Regions from separate parts of the Homo sapiens genome. Here all the other regions are linked to region 3. Evidence: promoter capture Hi-C in human tissues and cell types (Jung and others, 2019). All regions are on one chromosome and are shown on one strand. Each heading gives the region's core, a stretch centred on a gene start or on the middle of the fragment in contact. The rest is flanking DNA. Distances are from core to core; before and after follow the strand shown.

Region 1 (4,117 bases), core at 799-3,298, 420 kb before region 3:
GCTGTAAACTCGTCTATTCAGTCTCTAAGGCCTAGTTATAAAACAAAACAAACAAACAAAAACCCTCCTCCAGCACAGTTCCTGCATCTTGTTCCTCTTGGTGCCCGGAGTCCAGTGCAGATGTGCATGGAATCATGTTTGCTGAATTGAGTTGTTTCTGGGCTGAAACCACTCTCTGTCACTTCCTCACTAAGGGCCTAGGAGCCAGTTCAGGATTAGTGGAAGCAGGTATTCAGAGGCAGAGGCCGTGGAGAGATTGCATGAGGAGCCAGGGGCTTGGCTGAGGTGTGGGTGCTGACAGCTGGAGGCACTGCCTGACTTCACCTCCCTGGCAGGGCTGGGCAGTCTCTAGGCACCTTCTACCTCAGAGTTCTGCAAAGTCTACAGGTAGAGTCAGATCTATGACTCTAGAAATTGGGGGATCAAGCCAAATGAATGAAGAAAACAAGCCAGAAAAGTCAAGATAACTTTGGCTAAACTGTTCCAAATCATTCGGCTGCTGCTCGGTGGCTGAATAGGCTCCAGAGACTTCCTTTGCAGTGGACCCGAAGGAGGACATCTCAAAGAAGCATCCCAAACTAAGCTCCCCCGAAAAGTGTCCTCACTCTGAAGAGAGTGAATACTCCGGAACTGCGTGACTCTTAAGCCAAACCATTGGCACGAGCAGAGTGGCTTAGAAAAAAATTTACCCCACTGGCTGCTGTGAATCTGATTAAAAGAAAGGCCTAGAAAATGTCACTGAGGTCCCCTGATCTGGCCCTTTGTTTTACAAGTGGGAAATTGAGGTGTAGCAAAGGCAAGGAACTTACATAATGTTATGCGCTTAGAATGTCTACATGTCTCCCGGTGTTTACCCTTAGACAAGTTACTTCTCTCGGGGCCTTTGTTTTCTCATCCATGAAAAATAAATTGGGGATGAAAATAACAATGCCTACGTCATTTGTGAAGATGAAATCTAAGCACTTATAACAGTACCTGGCACACAACAACTGCTCAACAAATTATTAGTTGCTGCTGTTACTATTACTAAGCACTTCTAATGCTTAATCTCCCTTGATTCTCACATTCTATTACTTTAGGCAAATCTGGGCACGGTTCTAAAGCTTTCAACACTTTTTGGTAACATACAAAGATTCATGTCAGAGGTTTTCTGTCCAAACTCCGGTTGCCCTTATAAGAATAGCTTAGTAATTTCACGCCAGGCAGAAACTGGCTCTTGGTTTAGCTCTCCCCTGCATGGGATTCAAGGAGGAAGGAACAGCAGGGCTCCCTTGGGAGGGCTAGCTCCCTTATAGAAAGTGGAGTGGGCTGAAGCTCCCGAGAATTTAAACATTTAAGCTGGCAAAGGACTTAAGAAATCATCTAGTCCTAGGCCAACCCTTATATTTCACATATGAAGAAACTTGGGACCAGGAGGATAAATTGCCTTGCGCAAGCCTCACAGCAATTGGGTGGTAGGGCTGGAGCTAGTGCTTGGGACTCCCTGTCCTCATGCCCTCCAGGGCTGGCTCCCCCAACCATCAGCTGTAGGGAATGGTGTAGGGAGTAACTATCAGCTCCCTTGGCTTTCTGAGAAGGTTCAGAAAAGGGGAGAGGAAGGGAGGGGTGACAAGATCCTCAGGAACAGTCAGAGCTTCTGCGCCTGGCCCCCTCCCATGAGGCCACAGAAATGACCACAGAGCCACCCTGGAATGTCTCCATCAGCTCCTACTTGTCCCAAAGGTGATGTTAAGCTGATGTGGGGGGCAGTGTGAATCACTAACCAGGAGACCTGGGTTCTAATTCTAAATTTAGCTTAAAAGCCTCACTTTCCTGTTTCCAGGACGCCTTCCTTGAGGATTTCCTCCGAGTTCCTGGTATCCCTGTCTCAGTCACTTGCCTGGGCATCACACACCATGCTGTGTTGCTAATTAGCCTCTACTAGTGGCCTCCCCACCCCGTGCCTCCTAACAGCACCATAAAAATGCTTTCAGTGGAGGAACTGAGACTTAAGCTTTCCACGTCCCTGCAGTTCCTAATGTACAGGATAATCACAGAAAGGGTATGCCGAGGGGACCCCCAACTTGTCTCACCAACCATCTCCTTTTGTAGAAGAAACTAAAGTTAGGAATGGCATAGCCCCAGTGATCAGAGCTGGTTGCGATGGGATTTTGGACACAAGAACAAAGAAAAGCCCAGGGAAAAGAAGACACTCATTCATGAGAAGTTGGAAAACAAAGTCTGGCCACAAGTAAGCAATATCATTAGAGAGAAAGTTGTGTATGTGCAGATCAAGAAAGAAACTCCTTAAATAAGCTTTCTCTCCCCTAGTAAAACCCCAGAATCCATTGACTCTGGGGTGAGTTACATAAACCTCACTCTCCTTCAGAAGGGAAGGGATGCTTTTATTACTCAACTCGGTTGCTGGCATGGAGTTGTTATTTATTTGTTTTAACAGTGTTTTCCATTATTATCTATTTTCGTTTCATTTTATACCCTTAGTTACATTAAGCACATTTCAGATAAGTTAGATATACTTATTCTGGGAATGATAAGTAATACAAACATTTTATGTAGACTATCTCAAAATTGAACATCTGAAAATAAGATTACATCTGTCATACGATTATCTAGCCACATACATGCATGTGAGCAATTATGTGTGTGTGTAGCCTTTGAAATGGATTAAAACAATAGATAGATGGGTACTTTATATAGATACATAGATATCTCTGTGTATCTACAGATATAGACATCATTGCCAATTGCCATCCGGTAATAACTTGGTATATGATATAACCTTAAACAGTTGTAACAATGTCTATTTTTATCTATATAATATCTATCTATCTAGTGCTCTATGCAGTTACAGATATATGTCTACACATTTCCTACTTCCAGTGGCATCTATCATTAAATTACGTGTGTGTGTGTATTGATAGTGTGCACATGGCATACTTATGGTTAGGAATATAAATGCCCAAATATATATAAAACATTTTGGCCGGGTGCAGTGGCTTACGCCTGTAATCCCAGCACTTTGGGAAGCTGAGGCAGGTGGATGGCCTGAGGTCAGGAGTTCAAGACCAGCCTGACCAACATGGTGAAAGCCTGTCTCTACTAAAATACAAAAATTAGCCGGGCATGGTGGTGCATGCCTGTAATCTCAGCTACTTGGGAGGCTGAGGCAGGAGAATCACTTGAACCTGGGAGCCTGAGGTTGCAGTGAGCCAAGATTGTACCATTGCACTCCAGCCTGGGCAACAAGAATGAAACTCCATCTCAAAAAAATAATTGTTTTCATCCGGAATCCAGAATAAACTCTGAACTTTTGATGTCAACCAAGGTATACAATAGGTGTATATATATATATATATGATATATATATATATATATATGCTAAGAGAAGATGTGTTGCTTTTCTTATTCTCTTTAAGAAAGTTTGTAAGTCATATGGATTACTTGAAATGAAACAAATGTATATTTCTTGCTGGAAAAGCAATAGTTTCAACTTGTATATTCTATAGTAGTATAAGGTCCAATGGATCCCATAAATTCAGAGTGAATTTAGGAGCCCTGTCTTTCACTGGGATCAGATCCTTTGTCTGACGGCAGCAAGATAGACCAGACTAGCAGACCGCAGAGCACCGAGAAGAGGTGTCTTGGGTGCTGCTAAGTGTGTAATCAGCATTGCCAGCAGTTCCATTCTACACCCTGTGATGACATGTTACTTGCCTTGCAACACCTGTTTGGACCTGGGTCCCAGAAGGATGGTGAGAGCGAGAAGCCACTCAAATGTGGTGCTCGAAGTTCAGGGAAAAGGTGAGATACTTACCATACGCTATCACTACCCTTGTCCAGGGGGTTTCCCATGGGGTCGTAGTACACATCCACACTGAGATTTCGGTCTGTGTCATGAGCTGAGTTGAAGTTGGTGATCACCCGGGAAGGAATCCCCAAAGACCGCAGCGCTGCAAGTCAGGGTGGGCGTGAGGACTCAGGTGGTGGAGATGGTACCTTGGCATAGCCCACTGCCACCCACTGACCCAGCCAAGGCACACCACACCCAAGGTACCTGTGTTGAGGGTCCCAGCAAAGACCCAGCACTGGCCATATCGGACTGGGCTGAAGCCAGATT
Region 2 (3,886 bases), core at 781-3,280, 500 kb after region 3:
TAATCCTGAGGTCAAGGGAGGGACCCGGTGGGAGGTGATTGGATGGTGGGGGTGGTTTCCCCCATGCTGTTCTCATGGTAGTGAGTGCATTCTCATGAGAAATGATGGTTTTATAGGTGTTTGACAGTTCCTCTTCACATACTCTCTCTCATGCCTGCTGCTGTGTAAGATATGCCTGCTTCCCCTTCTGCCATGATTGTAAGTTTCCTGAGGATTCCCAGCCATGCAGAACTGTGAGTCAATTAAACCTCTTTCCTCCATAAATTACCCAGTCTCAGGAATTTTTTTTTTTTTTTTTTTTTTTTGAGACTGGTTCTCACTCTGTCACCCAGGCTGGAATGCAGAGGTGCAATCTTGGCTCACTACAACCTCCGCCTCCTGGTTTAAGCAATTCTTATGCCTCAGCCTCTCAAGTGGCTGGGATTACAAGCCTGTGCCACCATGCCTGGCTAATTTTTTTGTATTTTTAGTAGAAACTGGGTTTCACCATGTTGGCCAGGCTGGTCTTGAACGCCTGGCCTCAAGTGATCTGCCCGCCTCAGCTTCCCAAAGTGCTGGGATTACAGGCATGAGCCACCGTGCCCAGCCTCAGGTATTCTTTATAGCAGTGTGAGAATCGACTAATGCAGAAGCACACACACACACAGATCAGAGAAAGATTAGTCACATGTGCCTCCTTATGTCCTAGACCATGTCACAGTGTTCTCTTGCGTTACAGTGCCTCTGCAGGTACTGCTCCTTCTGCCTCCCCTTACCCCAACACATACACACAATTGGCCTTCTAACCTTGGCTAAACCTGGCTAAACCTGGCTAACTCAGGGAAATATCTGACCACATTCCAGACTAAGTGAGGCATCTCTGTTATATTAACACGCCCCTCACAGCATGTATTACTGTCTCATAATATTACAGATTTGAAACTTTACATTTATTCCGTATCTTTTTTTACTTAAACAGGTTATTTGATTATCTCTCCCACATCATACGTAGATTCTGTGAGGTCAGGGACTAAGTCTGACTCCTTCACCGCTGTATCCTCAGCACCTAGCACAGTACATGACATACAGAAGGTGCTTGTCAAAGTCAAAATAAAATATGGAGATGAATCTCTAAATGTAATGTTTTATTTGGGGAAGCGAGAATCGCAACTCGGAGCATACACACAGATCTGGTGGTCTTTGGTATGTCCGAAAAACAAAGAGAAGGCTGGGCGTTTTATTAGAAAGGGAAATGCATTGGCACTAGTAAAGTTTCAGGGAGCTGGCAAGCTCTGATTGGTGACTGACAGTGGTAAGTAAAACTAGTATTAGGTTATGGCGGGTTGTTTCAGCAGTTACTAGCTGAATCTGGTCTCAGGGGGACAGCAGGCCATTTCCGCAGCAGTTAGTGGAAATATTGGTTCTTGGAGCAGGCGCTGCGTGCCTCCAGTGCTTTTCCCCTGGCCCCTGGATTCTGATTCCGTTGGGCATAAGAAGAGTGACCCAATTCGTATTATCAACTTTCACATGCTCAATAAGAATGTATGCATGTAAGCTATGGGTGAGTGAATGAATTTGGACAACTCCTCCTCCAGTGAAGAAAAGCAGAACTTACAACCTTGAGCCACTTATAAAATACTAACATACTACCACCACCTGTGCGCTGTCTTCTCAGAACCATGCTCTTCCCAGGATGAGTAACTGTGTGCTTCTAAGTGGAAACCTGATGACAGTCACCCAGTCAGTGACTGGCGGACCCCCTATTATTACTCCCATTCTTTGGGCAGGGAGATGCTTAACCGGCTGGAAGCACAGAGGAAGGGCAGGAGAACGAAGCAAGTCACCCGGCAAACACAGCTGTATCCGGAGGCCTCCGGGCTTCCGGAGGTCTCGGGGCTTCTGGGCTTCCGGTCCCTCTTCCGGAGGCCTGGGTTTCCGGGACGTCGCGCGCCGTGTGGGGCGCGCACGCAGGGCTGGGCGTGAGGGGGCGTGCGCGTGCGCAGGCGACGCGCCGAGGTACTAGGCAGAGCCGTGGAACCGCCGCCAGGTCGCTGTTGGTCCACGCCGCCCGTCGCGCCGCCCGCCCGCTCAGCGTCCGCCGCCGCCATGGGAGTGCAGGTGGAAACCATCTCCCCAGGAGACGGTGAGTAGTGGCGCGCGGCGGCTCGGAGTACCTCTGCCGCCGCGCGCATCGGCTCAGCATGCCCGTCTCTGTCTCCTCAGGGCGCACCTTCCCCAAGCGCGGCCAGACCTGCGTGGTGCACTACACCGGTGAGTCGGGGGCCCAGCGGGGAGGGGGCCCGGGCCGCAGTCCGCAGCCCGGGTGCGGCTGGCCGTCGAGGCCTGGGGGCCCGGGGCCTGGGGTCCGGGGCGTGGCGGCGGCGAGGTCCGCATGGCCCGAGGCTGAGGCCTGGGCGGTGGCTCAGGGGCAGCCTGGGGCTTGCGGAACCCGGGCGGGTCTGAATCGGCGGCTGTGAGCGTCGGCTGCGGGCTAGGTGTTATCTGACCCGTCAGAAGCATTTCTGCACCTTAGATGCTGCCCTTATGCCCGCTGCACAGATGAGGAAACTGAGGCTTGGCGAGGCGAAGTCACTTTCCCAAGGTCTCACTTTCCCAAGGTCACACTTTCAGGAATGGGCAGAGCTCTGGCCAGGGACCATTAGGAAGGATTTGTACCATTTCTGTGCCCCTGCCCCCACTTCCATCCCTCCCTTCACTGGAGATGAGGACGAGGTAATTCCGAGTCTGCAGAGCTGCTGCTTCCTCCGGGGAACTCGGAATTCGCCCCTTTGCCTAGGGTGGGGAAACATCCCACTTCCTAAGTCATTGCTTTGGCCCTTCCTGGCCTTGGGGGAAGTAGAGCTGCACGGCCTTCTTCCGTCTTTTTACTTTTGAGCCACTTACAAATCCAAGGCTCAGTGACAGCGCTGGCTCAGGCTGACCGAAAGCTGCACGTGTAATTTAGTCCCCCAGCTCTTCTAGAAGTAGAGACTTTTCTCGTCCTCATTTTAAAGATAAGCATCTGGAGGCTAATACATAGTGATAATACAAGCCAAAGGAAATTTTAGACACCTCCCCCTCCCCAGCCAGAATTCAGACATCAGAGTCGTGTGCCTTGGGGCTGTCTTACTCCTTCTCCTTACAAGCTTGTCCTGGTTTGTATGGGGGCGGGGGAGGGGGAGAGCTGAGTTGGCGGAGACTCAGTGGCTGTGGGTCCCACAAGGGTGGCAGTGATTGGTGTAGCCACAGTTGTTGATACGAATAACCTTCCCTCCCCCTCCTCCTTCCCCTTTCTCAACCTTCCCACCCTTTCCTCTGTTCCCCCTCCTCCTCCCTCTTTTTTTCCCACTCCCTCTCCTCCTCTTCCTCCTCCTGGGTAGTAGGCTGTGGGCAGTTCTGGCCAAGTTGCTCACGAATAAGCTCCACCTTTCTCTTCCAAATCATGGAAACATGGAGGGATCCCTCTATTGAGGGAAATGACTTTCACTGGAAAGAGGAAAAGGCAACTAACATCCCCCCTCCCATGCCCTTTTATTTCTGTGGCCCTTCCCCGTGGGTAGAAATGGGGGCAGGAGGTAGAAGTTAAGGACTAGAACTTTAAAAATTCTGCCAAAGGAGGAGTTACTGAAACCCATCTTTCTGGGGAGCAGGCAGTCTCATGTCCGTGAAGGAAGCTGGAAAGTGCTTTTGATGTTTTAGATAGCTGTCCTTGTAGGCCACAGTCAGCACCTGAGCCTGGGAGGTCTGGTAGATGAAAGCGCATCCTTTTGGTGATTTGTCATCGGAAGGATGAGGAGAGTAACCATTTACAGTGCTGGGGTGAGTGGGCAGTTCATTCAGTTCCGCAGCCAACTGGGGCAAAGATTGGGACTCAAGCCGTGAGGAGCTGCCTTCTGCCGCACCCCCT
Region 3 (4,370 bases), core at 1,306-3,805:
CCAGGCCTCAGTCCCTTGCCCTTCTCCCAGCCTCAGAATCTCCCTCAGTGCAGTTGTTTTAGGAAACAGGCCTCACATTGGGTCCAAAAACATAGGTTGGTGACTTCACTGGGATCTTTTTAGAATTTCCCTTTGGCAGCATTTGTGCTAAAAGCAATCTTTAGAAACTTCTTCTCTTGCCTCCCCCACCCAGGATAATTCACATGATTGGCCCCACCCCCCCAAAACAGTGATCATGTGAAGACACAGGAATCATGTGACACCTCCCAGGCTGACAGTTCTGCCTGAGACACTAGTAGTCATTCAATCCAAAGCCGCCTTCCTAAACCTGACATTTTAGTTTCTCACTCGAACAAATCCATTTTCTTAGAAAATTGGACAACTGCCTCCTTGTACCTTCCTACCCTCATATCCTGTCTCTCTACTTCTTTGTTGTAAATTCCATGTCTGGAGCAATAGGGGGAGGGGCCTGAGGCCCCATCCTTCAGCCAAACCAGGTGACTTCCCTGCCCAGGCCCATGGTGTGACCAGGACCCCGAAGAACAGATACTGAAGGATAATGGGAGACTTGAGCTATGATGGTCGCACCTCATCCCTTCCCCACCACCCTCGACCAAGAAATTCATTCTTACCTCCTAAGATTTATTTATTTCAAAGCTAATCTTGGCCCCTCTGCTGCTCCCACTTTTTCAGGCTATTGATGCTGAATGGATTGGAACGGAAGTTTTATGGCCCAATCTTTACCATCTTATAGACTGTTTTTATAGGCAAAAGGGGGAGATGTGCTCACAAGAAAGGTGTTGGTGTTCCCAGCCGGTGCCCCAGGAAAGGCAGGCTGCCCATCGGAGCACTTGCTAATCAGCGTCACTGCTCGTTTGCCAGGGACTGAACCACAGCCTCCTGGTCGGAGAAGGGTCTGGAATAGACATTTAGAAATTAACTCGGGCCCAATTCCCTGCTTCAGGAAAATTAAGCACTTGTGAGTGACACTTGTGCATTTCCAGGCCAGGAAGGATGGCAGGGCAGGAACTCGGACTTTTGCAGGGTACAAATGGCCAGCTCAGGCAGGAAGGAGCAGATAGGAGATGCCACTCACTGGAGAGACGTGAACTGTATCAGTGCTCCCTTCAGCCCAGCAAGGACGCAACTATAACTGAAAAGAACTGGGGGTGGAGGGTGGGGTGGGGTGGGGGGATGCCTATGTGAATTCCTGGGTTTCAGGGGAAACTGCAGGGCAGAGAGAAGCAGCTGTCTACCCCCCATACTTCTCCTTCCACCCACTCTTTGCTAGTTCTCCCTTTCTCCCTGCTATCAGATGGTTACCATCTCTAGTCAAACGCAAAAGGGGGTGTTGGACACTGAGCTCATCTTTACCTCCCTCCTCAAGGGTGGGAGGTACAGAGAGACCCCACTGCCTACAACACAGTTTCAAGACGACAAAAAACAAGATCCCCATTTTTCTCTCCCTCCCAACTCCCTTAATGCCATTTCTCTGCTCCCCCCGCCCCCCACCCGGTGCCCTCCCAGGAGACCCATGGTTTTGCAAAACCCATTTAAGAAGCAAGACTCCTGAATGGTGACCTCACCCTTTGGTGAACATGCACAGTAGCCTTCAGAGCCCGCCTGCCGGCGACAGCCAGGTGTTTGATGTAGGCCAACAGAAAGACATGGTCAGAGCCACAGGTAACATCCCCGCGGAGCACCTGAACTGCAGGGAGCTGCCTGGAAGCTCGGGGAAGGCAGGAGGAAGGGGGAGCTGGGAGCGCCTCAAGGAGCAAGACCACCAGGGAGAGGCTTTGGCAACCACAGGGACAATCCACCGTGTTTTTACATAAGGATCTGTTGCTCGCAGCAGCTCGCTCTGGGGTTACCGCGGCCTCCCGGCTCCCTCTCTCCCAGGCACACACTAACACCGGTTTACTCTGCGCACCAGAGGGAGGGCTCACTCTTCCCTAATTGCAACAGCTTGTCTCTGTTCCATTCCAGGCAGCATCGGGAGGACCTCTGCCCTCACCTCCTCCCCTCACACCCTGAAGTCAAACATGTGGAAAGTCGTATGTCCATGGGGACAGATTCTGGGGAAGCCGGACGGCCCTGCTCTGAAAGCCACTGTCAGTCAGCCTTCCCCATTGGACCGGGCAGGGGCTGAGTGAAGCAACTCGGCTCTTTTGTCTCAGTGCCCAGCACAGTGCACAGAGTCAGAGTCCACAGAGACAAACTCTCATAGAAGAGACTTGGGTTCTACCCTTGGCTGTGTGACCTTGGGCATGTCGCTGGCCCTCTCTGGGCCTCAGTTTCTGCATCTATAACCCTGGTTACAGGCGTCTCTCCCCCTATTACTGCTCGGCATTAGCCGAAGGGGTCCCAGTGCCAGTCTGAGAGGCCTGAGCCCGCAGTTTGGGGAGTGCAGCGGTGGGGAGCGGGGGGGTGCTTACCTGACCAGGCGCAGGACGCGGCGAGCAGCAGGCAGAGCAGCGGCCCGAGGCGGCCGGGGGCCGGGCCGGCGGGCTCCATGGGCCGCGGCTGCGGAGCGAGGAGGGAGAGCGGCCGTGAGTGCGCGCTCGGGCGGGAGCAGGCTGGAGCGGGGAAATGACTAAGGCTCCCCCCCTTCCCCCCTCCCGGCTGGGCCTCCCCCCGACTCCGGAACGGGCGCCTGGAGCGGCCGCCGCCGCCGCCGCGGTTTTTGGAGACCCCCCCTCCCCGCCCCCCAGGAGAAATGGAGAGACGGAGACTGGGAGAGACCCCAAGCGCGCGAGAAATAAAGCCAGGGGCGGCCAGAGAGAGGCGGCAGGAGAGAGAAACAGACCCAAGGGAGCCAGGCAGAGAGCCAGAGACACGGAGAGGCGAGAGGGGGAGAAAGAGGGGGAGAGCGAGGAGCGAGGAGCGAGGCGGCGCGCAGACCGACAGACCGCGCGGGAGAGAGGACCGCGCGAGCAGGGGCGAGGGGCAGCACGGCCGAGCCCGGCCGCGCGGAGCCGCCCCCGCCGCTGCCCACCTGCCCCGCCCGGGCTCCACACGGCGCGGGCGGCTGGGCTCGCTCCCGGCCCGCAGTCCCGGCCGCTGCCCCCGCCCTCCCGGCAGCCCGACCCCCTCCCTCCTTCCCTTTCCCCTCCTCCCGTCTTCCCGCCGCCCGGGGAGGCTTCGGGGCTCCGGCCCCGCCGGCACCTTCTCTGCGAGCGAGCGCCCGCCTGCGCGCCCCGGGGGAGGGAGCGAGGGCTGCGAGCTGCGCGCCCGGCCGGGGAGGGCAGCGTCCTCCCCCGCGCCGGCGCCCGGGCCCCGGCTGCTGTCCCGGGAAGGCGGCCCCGCGAGCCGCCGCGGCCCGCTGGGGCTCGGGACTAGACGAGCCTCCGGCTCCGACAGCGTGCCCGTTCAGAAGCCCGCGCGGCTGGTCCCCAGCCCCGACCGGTCCCGCTCTGCCCCTCCCCGTCCCTGCCGGGCCCGGACCTGCGCCGCCCGCGAGGGCTGGAAGGCACTGGAAGCGCCGCCGGGGCTGCCCAGAGGCCGGGTCCCCGCTCCACTTTGCGCAAACTTGTTTTTCTAAGGTCAGCGCTGCGAGCTGGCTACATCGTCCTCTTAAGGTGGACCGGGGAAGTTGCGGCCGACCTCCCCTCGCCTCCGGACTCCGGCCGCGCGGCTGCTCCCCGCTTCCCACTGGCGAGAGGCTGGAGGCGGCGAAGGAGTCGGGGCGCGGGGGCGCGGGGGGCGGGGGGGCGTCTGCCTTTTAACCCTCCCCAGGAGGTCGTGCCTCTGAGCCCCAAAGCTGAAGGCCCCTCTTGGGGGTGGGTGCGGGCCGGAGGGGCCCGATCCTTTCAGAGCCGGGCCGAGGTGAAGGAAAAGAAGGAAGTAAGTGAACGCAGGGGGAAGGGGAGAGGAAGAAGAGATGATGGTACAAAAATAGCGTGTGTGTAGGAAGGACTTCGGTGCCGCCTGGAAAAGAGGCGCGGGGAGGAGAGGGAGCGAGAAGGGGGCTGTGGCGCGCAACCAGAGGGGAAGGGTCGGGGCCTTCCCAGGGAGGTGGAGGCCCCCTGGCCAGGTGTCTCGGTGGTGGAGGGCGGACTGGGCGGGTGGGAGGCCCAGGCCGGGGCGTGTGTGGGAGAGCGGGGCCCTGAAGGCCTGGGTTCCGGGAGAAGGACAAGCCCTGAGGAAGATGAGGGGAAGGGGAGCCGGGGCCAGAGGCCTGGAGTTGGAGAGGACAGAACCCCGGTTTTCCCGGAGGGAACGCCGTTCCTGTAGTAGCCAGGTCAGTGATGGGGAGTGCCAGTGTCGTGGTCACCTGGCAGAAGGCTCCGCACTGTGGGAGGAACACAAGTTCAAGACCCCGCTGCTAATGGGAGAGAATTTTGGTTCACACAGTGGCGGTTAAGAGGACA

What was found. Contacts are between HindIII fragments. The study calls those that stand out against the background at their distance.
Region 1: a fragment that was not itself captured here is called in contact with the fragment with the promoter of SIRPA in region 3 in 2 of the 25 tissues and cell types used here (mesendoderm cells and spleen).
Region 2: the fragment with the promoter of FKBP1A here is called in contact with the fragment with the promoter of SIRPA in region 3 in 1 of the 25 tissues and cell types used here (hippocampus).

What each region holds. Positions count from the first base shown.
Region 1 is chr20:2,317,183-2,321,299 of GRCh38, reverse strand. TGM3 (transglutaminase 3) reads right to left here. Exons shown (of 13, transcript NM_003245.4): 6 at 4,055-4,117; 7 at 3,815-3,950. Among named protein-coding and RNA genes, the nearest start is that of TGM3, 23 kb to the right of the region's middle. The HindIII fragment of the contact is 3,003 bases long and covers 547-3,549 here.
Region 2 is chr20:1,391,198-1,395,083 of GRCh38, reverse strand. It overlaps FKBP1A (FKBP prolyl isomerase 1A), which reads left to right and starts at 2,030. Exons shown (of 5, transcript NM_000801.5): 1 at 2,030-2,122; 2 at 2,203-2,250. The coding sequence starts at 2,086. It overlaps FKBP1A-SDCBP2 (FKBP1A-SDCBP2 readthrough (NMD candidate)), which reads left to right and starts at 1,912. Exons shown (of 10, transcript NR_037661.1): 1 at 1,912-2,122; 2 at 2,203-2,250. It overlaps MIR6869 (microRNA 6869), which reads left to right and starts at 2,123; the gene lies at 2,123-2,184. RefSeq lists silencers at 1,974-2,023, 2,224-2,323, 2,334-2,403 and enhancers at 2,138-2,638, 3,430-3,886. The HindIII fragment of the contact is 6,579 bases long and covers 1-3,670 here.
Region 3 is chr20:1,893,592-1,897,961 of GRCh38, reverse strand. It overlaps SIRPA (signal regulatory protein alpha), which reads right to left and starts at 2,555. Exons shown (of 8, transcript NM_001040023.2): 1 at 2,436-2,555. The coding sequence starts at 2,514. It overlaps LOC102724545 (a long non-coding RNA gene), which reads left to right and starts at 3,712. Exons shown (of 4, transcript NR_186374.1): 1 at 3,712-3,843. RefSeq lists an enhancer at 1,395-1,910 and silencers at 3,202-3,321, 3,332-3,591. The HindIII fragment of the contact is 18,060 bases long and covers 1-4,370 here.